2 separate regions of the Homo sapiens genome follow, and region 1 is linked to region 2. Evidence: promoter capture Hi-C in 16 types of primary human blood cells and fetal thymus (Javierre and others, 2016). All regions are on one chromosome and are shown on one strand. Each heading gives the region's core, a stretch centred on a gene start or on the middle of the fragment in contact. The rest is flanking DNA. Distances are from core to core; before and after follow the strand shown.

Region 1 (3,494 bases), core at 873-3,372, 81 kb after region 2:
AGAAAGAGAGATCAGATTGTTACTGTGTCTATGTAGAAAAAGGAGGACATTAGAAACTCCATTTTGATCTGTACTAAGAAAAGTTGTTCGGCTTTGAGATGCTGTGAATCTGTAACTCTTGTCTCAACCCTGTGCTCACAAAAACAATCCCTTAAACTCAAAGTTTAAGGGATTTAGGGCTGTGCAGGATGCACTTTGTTAAAAATGTGTTTGCAGGCTGTATGCTTTGTGAAAGTCATTGCCATTCTCCACTCTCTATTAACCAGAGACACAATGCACCGCGGAAGGCTGCAGGGACCCCTGCCCAAGAAAGCCTGAGTATCGTCCAGGTTTCCCCCCACGGAGATAGCCTGAGATATGGCCTCCTGGGAAAGGAAAGACCTTACATCCCCCAGCCCGACACCCGTAAAGGGTCTGTGCTGAGGAGGAGTAGTGAAAGAGGAAGGCCTCTATGAGGTTAAGAGGAAAGCATCTGTCTCCTGCACGTCCCTGGGAATGGAATGACTCGGTGTAAAACCGAGCATACATTCTATTCTGAGATAGGAGAAAACCGCCTTATGGCTGGAGGCGAGACATCATGGTGGCAGTACTGCTCTGTTACTCTTTACTGCTCTGAGATGTTCATGTAAAGTTAAATATAAATGTAGCCTACGTGCACATCCAGGCACAGCACCTTTCCTTAAACTTATTTATGACACAGAGTCTTTTGTTCACGTGTTTTCCTACTGACCCTCTCCCCACCATCACCCTATAGTCACACCGCATTCCCCTCGCCGAGATAGTAAAGATAGTGATCAATAAATACTGAGGGAACTCAGAGACCAGCGCAGGTGCAGGTCTTCACTTGCTGAGTGCCAGTCCCCTGGGCCCACTTTTCTTCCTCTATACTTTGTCTCTGTGTCTTATTTCTTTTCTCAGTCTCTCATCTCCACCTTGGGAGAAATACTCACAGGTGTGGAGGGGTAGGCCCCCTTCAACCTATGATATATTTTAACATCTGATAGGACAAGTCCCCTTATTATTGTTCTTTTAAATTTTTTCTGCTGGCTACTCTCACATGTTTAGTCTTCTAGATGAATTTAGGCTCATTTTGTCCAATTGCAAAAATACATTGCCCAGGAATTTTCATTTGCATAACCTTGAATTTATAGCTCAATCTAGGGAAACTTGACATCATAGCAATATGGAGACGTCATAGTCAAGTTGACTATATGAAGTATTTTTATGGCCTTCATTATAGTTGTTTTTTTGTTTTGTTTTTTTTTTTTGAGATGGAGTCTCGCTCTGTCGCCCAGGCTGGAGTGCAGTGGCGCCATCACTGCAAGCTCCGCCTCCCGGATTCGTGCCATTCTCCTGCCTCAGCCTCCCGAGTAGCTGGGACTACAGGCGCCCGCCACCACGCCTGGCTATTTTTTAAAATATTTTTAGTAGAGATGGGGTTTCACCGTGTTAGCCAGGATGGTCTCGATCTCCTGACCTCGTGATCCGCCCGCCTCGGCCTTCTAAAGTGCTGGGATTACAGGCGTGAGCCACCGCGCCCGGCCCATTAGAGTGTTATGGTTGTTCTCATCCACATCTCACACGTTTCTTCAGTTCATTCTTGGGTGTTTTATGGTTTGGTTGCTATTGTGCATTCCCAGATTCTTACTGGAGATTGGGTGTGGGGTCTTACAGTAGGCACCTCTGGTGTCCCACGTTGCACCCCCTTGACCCGCTGATTTCAGCCACAACAAAAGTAGACAGTTCCATCAGAACTCAACCAGGTCCTTGTGCTGAAAATACCCCTCCTCAAGCATGAGCCACACTCTCTGCCCCAGGGCTTTCTCTAGCACCAATAGAAGCTTGCTCAGCCAATACAGCACAGCTCAGACCTGCTGGGGAGTTCATGCCCACGGGGAATGGAAGCTGGTGGGTAAATCCTCCAGCCACCCCTCCTTCAGATCAACCATTCTGTATGCTTGGAGATGCTGGTGAGCCCCATCACCCAAAATGTGCAGCAGCCTTGACAATGCACCCCGATTGGGCTTGCCTCCTTCCCCGTCTCACTCCCTCCTCTTTTTCACTCCTGCTTTCTGGGATCAGCTCCCAAGAAAACTATCTTCCTCAAGTCCTTCTCTCAGGCTCTGCTTTTGGGAGACACCCAAACTAAGGCAGACCTCCTATGGGATTCTGGCTCATAGTGAGGCAATTGAGTTTTATAGGAGAATCACTTGAACCAGTTGGTTTCCCCATTGCCAAGAAATATCACACTCACTCTACATAGCTGTTGAGCAGAGCTGGGACCAGTCTGGCCTGGAGTAGACACACACCGCCCCCCCCACCCCACACACACACACACACGGGTCCTGCTGTAACCCTGCATTCTTCAGCCTTAGGTGTGGAACCTCTCTCTAATACCTCTAAGAAGCTTGTAACTCCTTCAAAGTACTGCAGTGTCCCCCTATCTGCCTCACCACAAATTCAGACTCCTCCCTTTATCCCCCAAGCACAGTTAACTTGAAGCAATAAAGAAGAAGATTCGGGCCAGGCCCAGTGGTTCGCACCTGTAATTCCAGAACTTTGGGAGGCCAAGGCGGGCGGATCACCTGAGGTCAGGAGTTCAAGACCAGCCTGGCCAACACGGTGAAACCGTGTCTCTACTAAAAATACAAAAAATTAGCCAGGCGTGGTGGCAGGCGCCTGTAATCCCAGCCACTCGGGAGGCTGAGGCAGGAGAATTGCTTGAACCTGGGAGGCGGAGGTTGCAGTGAGCCGAGATTGAGCCACTGCACTCCAGCCTGGGCGACAGAGTGGAACTCCATCTCAAAAAAAAAAAAAAAAAAAATTCTTACACATGACCTCCCAACTATTTCTACAAATTTGCATCATACACTCAAGACTCAATGTTCTGGGAGAGATTGCCAGGTGGGTGATACCCATGGCACATGCCACCCCCCTCCTGCTACACTGGGGGGTGGGGGAGAGATGAAGAATTCGGTTCTGTGGCTACTGGTGCCCCCTGAAGTATGCACATTATAAGGGGCTCTCTAAAATACAAATCATGAATGTTTACTATAATATTCTTTGCCCATTTCTCCAATGGGTTGTTGTTGTTTTTTTCTTGTCATTGTGTAGGGGTTCTTTATAGTCTGGATATTAATTAACTGTTATAAATATTGCAAATATTTCATCTAAGTCTATTGCTTTTTTTTTTTTTTTTTTTTAGACAGGGTCTCACTCTGTTGCCCAGGCTGGAGTGCAGTGGTGCAATCACGGCTCACTGCAGCTTTGACATTTCTTGGCTCAGGTGATCCTCCCACCTCAGCCTCCAGAGTAGCTGGGACTACAAGCACACGCCACCACGCCCAACTAATTTTTGTATTTCTTGCAGAGACAGGGTTGTTGCCCAGGCTGGTCTCGAACTCCTGAGCTCAAGTGATCTCCCTGCCTCAGCCTCCCAAAGTACTAGGATTACAGGCGTGAGCCACTGCACCTGGCCCCTCTTTTTTTTGTTT
Region 2 (3,827 bases), core at 360-2,859:
GTTAGGACCCACCAGTGCGCGTGGTGGAGGTACAGAAATGATAGGAGAAATCCTTCTAAACATATAAAGAGGGCATTTTAGGAGAGTTTCCCCTTTCCTCTTACCATTTTTAAACCCCTGGACTTTCACCTTATTCTCCAAGTACTGGAAGTTTTCATACGTCCTTGTCATGCTTGGGCCAACACGGCTCTGAGGTTGTCACAGCTGAAATGGAGGCAGGGCCGGCGCCCAGTCTGGGGTGGAGCTGGGGAATAGGAGGTTGGGACTAAGTTGGAGCCAAGGGCAGGGCTGACGTTGAGTTGGGAGATGAGGCTCAGGTTGAGAATGAGCCCAGGGTTAAGACGGAAATGAGCCTGGGTTTGCAGTCGAGTTAGAATTGGGGTCGAGTTGAGTTTGGGAGTGAAACTGGAGGGTAACGTTGGAGCTAAACGCATTGCTAGGACTACCCAGTGGGCCAGTTAATCAGGCAGGACTGGAGGTTGTATCTCATGCTAGGATTGGGGTCAGTATGCACGTTGGAGCCATGGATGGAATTGGGGTTAACTTTGGTGGTGAATTTGGAAACAGAATAGAGTCGAGGTTCAATTTTGGCTTTGGGCTGGTGTTAAAATTCAAGTTGATTCTGGGGTTGGGGTTGAAGTAGGAGCTGGGTGGGGGGCGACAGGTGCGGTGGCTCACGCCTATAAATCCCAGCACTTTGGGAGACCGAAGCAGACAGATCACTTTAGGTCAGGAGTTTGAGACCGGCCTGGCCAACATGGTGAAACCCCATCTCTACTAAAAATACAAAAATTAGCTGGGTGTGGTGGTGTGCGCCTGTAATCCCAGCTACTTGGGAGGCTGAGGCAGGAGAATCACTTGAACCCAGGAGGCAGAGGTGGCAGTGAGCCGAGGTTGTGCCGTTGCACTCCAGCCTGGACGACACAGTGAGACTCAGTCTCAAAAAAAAAGAAAATGTAGAAGCTGGGGTTAGTATTGGGATTAGGGCATGGCTGGGCTGAGATGAAGATAAGGCTGGAAATGGGCCACCAATGAGGCTGAGTCTGAGTCTTAGTTTATTTTTATTTTTATTTATTTATTTTTTGAGATGGAATTTCGTTCTTGTCGCCCAGGCTGTTGTGCAACGAGGCCGTCTCGGCTCACTGCAACCTCTGCCTCCTGGGTTCACAAGATTCTCCTGCCTCAGCTCCCGGAGTCTTAGTTTATGACAGGGGATTGTGGCTGCCGTAACCCAATCTAGAATCCAGTGAAGGGAACAGAGTCTCAAATCTCCACGTAGTAATTAAACCCCACACTGCCGCCTTATATTTATTTTCATTTAGTCCCACCCAAGACCCAAAGTCCCCCTCTCCCTGCTTCCTCTGACATCCCCTGTCCCCTGGGTCTCACCGGCACCGGCAGCACCATTACCTGTGGGAGGTCTGGAGGGTGTGATTCCCACGTTGGTTGTGCTGCAAGGACCAGAGGTGGGACGTCACTCAGAGTTGGGAGCGCTGTGTCCTGGAGAGCTGGGGTAGAGGTGACTGGAGTCCTGCTGGTCTTGGGTCTGAAATCCCAGGAGCCCTATCATCTGGGACATCCCATCTCCTCAACTTTAGACAGTAAATGAGAATGAACAGGGATTAGAACACACAGAGACCATGTGTGGGTGGGGAGAGTTGGGTTTGAGGCCAGCTCTGTTCTCCTCCTCCAGGCCATGCCTACTTCCTTTCCTCTTCTCGGAGCTTCCTCATTTTTACCATCTGGGAGCAGGGCTGGATCAGAGGTACAATCTGCTGTTGCTCCTCTACCCTACACTTCCTTTCACTTCCTGCCTCTACATTTCCCAGAATTGTTGGGTCTCCATCATCGCACCTCTGATCCTAGAGAAGCCCAGTCTGTTCTCTTGCTCAATCCTGGCCTGAGTCCCTGGCATCAGCATCCTCTGGGTCCCAGTCATTCGGCTGCTCAGCTGTGGCCTCGCTCGCCTCACTCCACTCGGAAGGAGGGAAGGGGGTGCCAGAGAATAGAACTTCTTGGCCCTAATAGGACGGGAGAAGCCAAGGAAAAGAGCAAATTTTATTGAGTAATCTGTGATAGGATTATGCCAGACATTTACCTTCCACAACCATTCCCCCCAAGCACCTGGGGAGGCATTTTGGATGACGGACTAAAGGCTCAGAGCCCAAGATCACTCACAGCTTGTAAGGAGACAGTTTGGCACCCTGCTCTGGCTCTCAGCACAGGCGCTGTCTTCATGAACAGGATTCCATTTCATCCCATGATCCCTGCTCAACCCCTAAGGGAGCTGCCCTGAATCCACGCGCACATCCCTTTCAGTAGGAAGGAAACTGAGTATCTTACAAGGTGGAGAAGGAGAAGAAATACATTTTAGGTTATATTTTGTATGTACATGGGGTTGTGTTCTGCTATGTGCTTTTTTTTTTTTTTTTTGGAGTTAACAAGCTATCAGGAACATTTCTCCACATCAGTTTATAAAATGTACTTGATCTACCTGCACCTCATTTCATCATAGGCACCGTAATTTATTTATTTAGCATTTCTCTATTGACAGAAATAAATCAGAAATTTAAGTTGTTTCTTTTTCTTTTCTTTTTTATTTTATTTATTTATTTATTTTTTTGAGACAGAGTCTCACTCTGTTGCCCAGGCTGGAGTGCAGTGACACAATCTCGGCTACTGCATCTCCTGGGTTTAAGCGATTCTCCTGCCTCAGCCTCCCGAGTAGCCGAGATTACAGGTCCCGCCACCACACCCAGCTAATTCTTGTATTTTTAGTAGAGAGGGGTTTCACCATATTGGCCAGGCTGGTCTTGACCTCCTGACCTCACATGATCTGCCCGCCTCAGCCTCCCAAAGTGCAGGGATTACAGGCGCGAGCCACCGCACCCGGCCAGGTCGTTGCCAGTTTTGTTTTTATTTGGTATTCGGTATTTTGATTAGTATATGTCGCAGGTTCGGTTTTTGGAAGCCAAGGTTGAGGCTGAATTTGGGGTACAAGCTATTTATTAGGGATTAGCACTTCGAAAAGGAAAGTGGATGAAATGGTGCTGGGCAGAGGGAGAAGCCCAGCACTTTGGAGAGCTTCAACCAAACCAACAGGGAGCTCTGGGTTCAAACAATGCCACCCCCGGGAGCTGTCCAGCATTGGACTGCCACAGGGTCCTGTAGAGCACCAGCTCCTTCGGTCACTGGCAGTCAGCCCTGACATGGGTGTGACCTCAGGAAGCAGCTGTCTGCAGGTTACACTCCCCACAGTGGGTCACCACATCCTTCCTAGAAGGGGGACCTGGGTAGCTCTCTGTGTGTCTACCACAGTCTTGCAGTGTATTCACATATTAATTTGGAGATAATCAACATTTTGACATTGTTGAATCTTCCATGAAAAGAACATGATATTTCTCCATTCACTAACTTTTTTTTTTCAGTCTGGTTCAGTGGGTTTGAAGCTTCTTTTTTTTTTTTTAGTTCTGGGATACATGTGCAGAATGTGCAGGTTTGTTACGTAGGTATACGTGTGCCATGGTGGTTTGCTGCACCTATCAACCCATCACCTAGGTTTTAAGGCCCGCATACATTAGGTATTTGTCCTAATGCTCTCCCTCCCCTTGCCGCCCACCCCCTGACAGACCCTGGTGTGTGATGTTCCCCTCCCTGTATCCATGTGTTCTCATTGTTCAGCTCCCGGTTATGAGTGAGAACATGCGGTGTTTGGTGTTCTGTTCCTGTGTTACTTTGCTGAGAATGATGGTTTCCAGCTTCATCTATGTCCCTGCAAAGGACATGAACTCATTCTTTTTTATGGCTGCATAGTATTCCATGGTGTA

The links. The method cuts DNA at HindIII sites, captures the fragments that hold promoters and counts their contacts. A CHiCAGO score of 5 or more calls a contact.
Region 1: a contact is called between a fragment that was not itself captured here and the fragment with the promoter of CLEC10A in region 2, in 2 of 17 cell types (monocytes and M1 macrophages). The highest score is 6.6, in monocytes.

The regions. Positions count from the first base shown.
Region 1 is chr17:7,159,082-7,162,575 of GRCh38, forward strand. No RefSeq gene overlaps it. Among named protein-coding and RNA genes, the nearest start is that of ASGR1, 19 kb to the right of the region's middle. The HindIII fragment of the contact is 566 bases long and covers 1,840-2,405 here.
Region 2 is chr17:7,078,642-7,082,468 of GRCh38, forward strand. CLEC10A (C-type lectin domain containing 10A) reads right to left here and starts at 1,610. Exons shown (of 9, transcript NM_001330070.2): 1 at 1,411-1,610; 2 at 105-244. The coding sequence starts at 171. The HindIII fragment of the contact is 6,420 bases long and covers 1-3,447 here.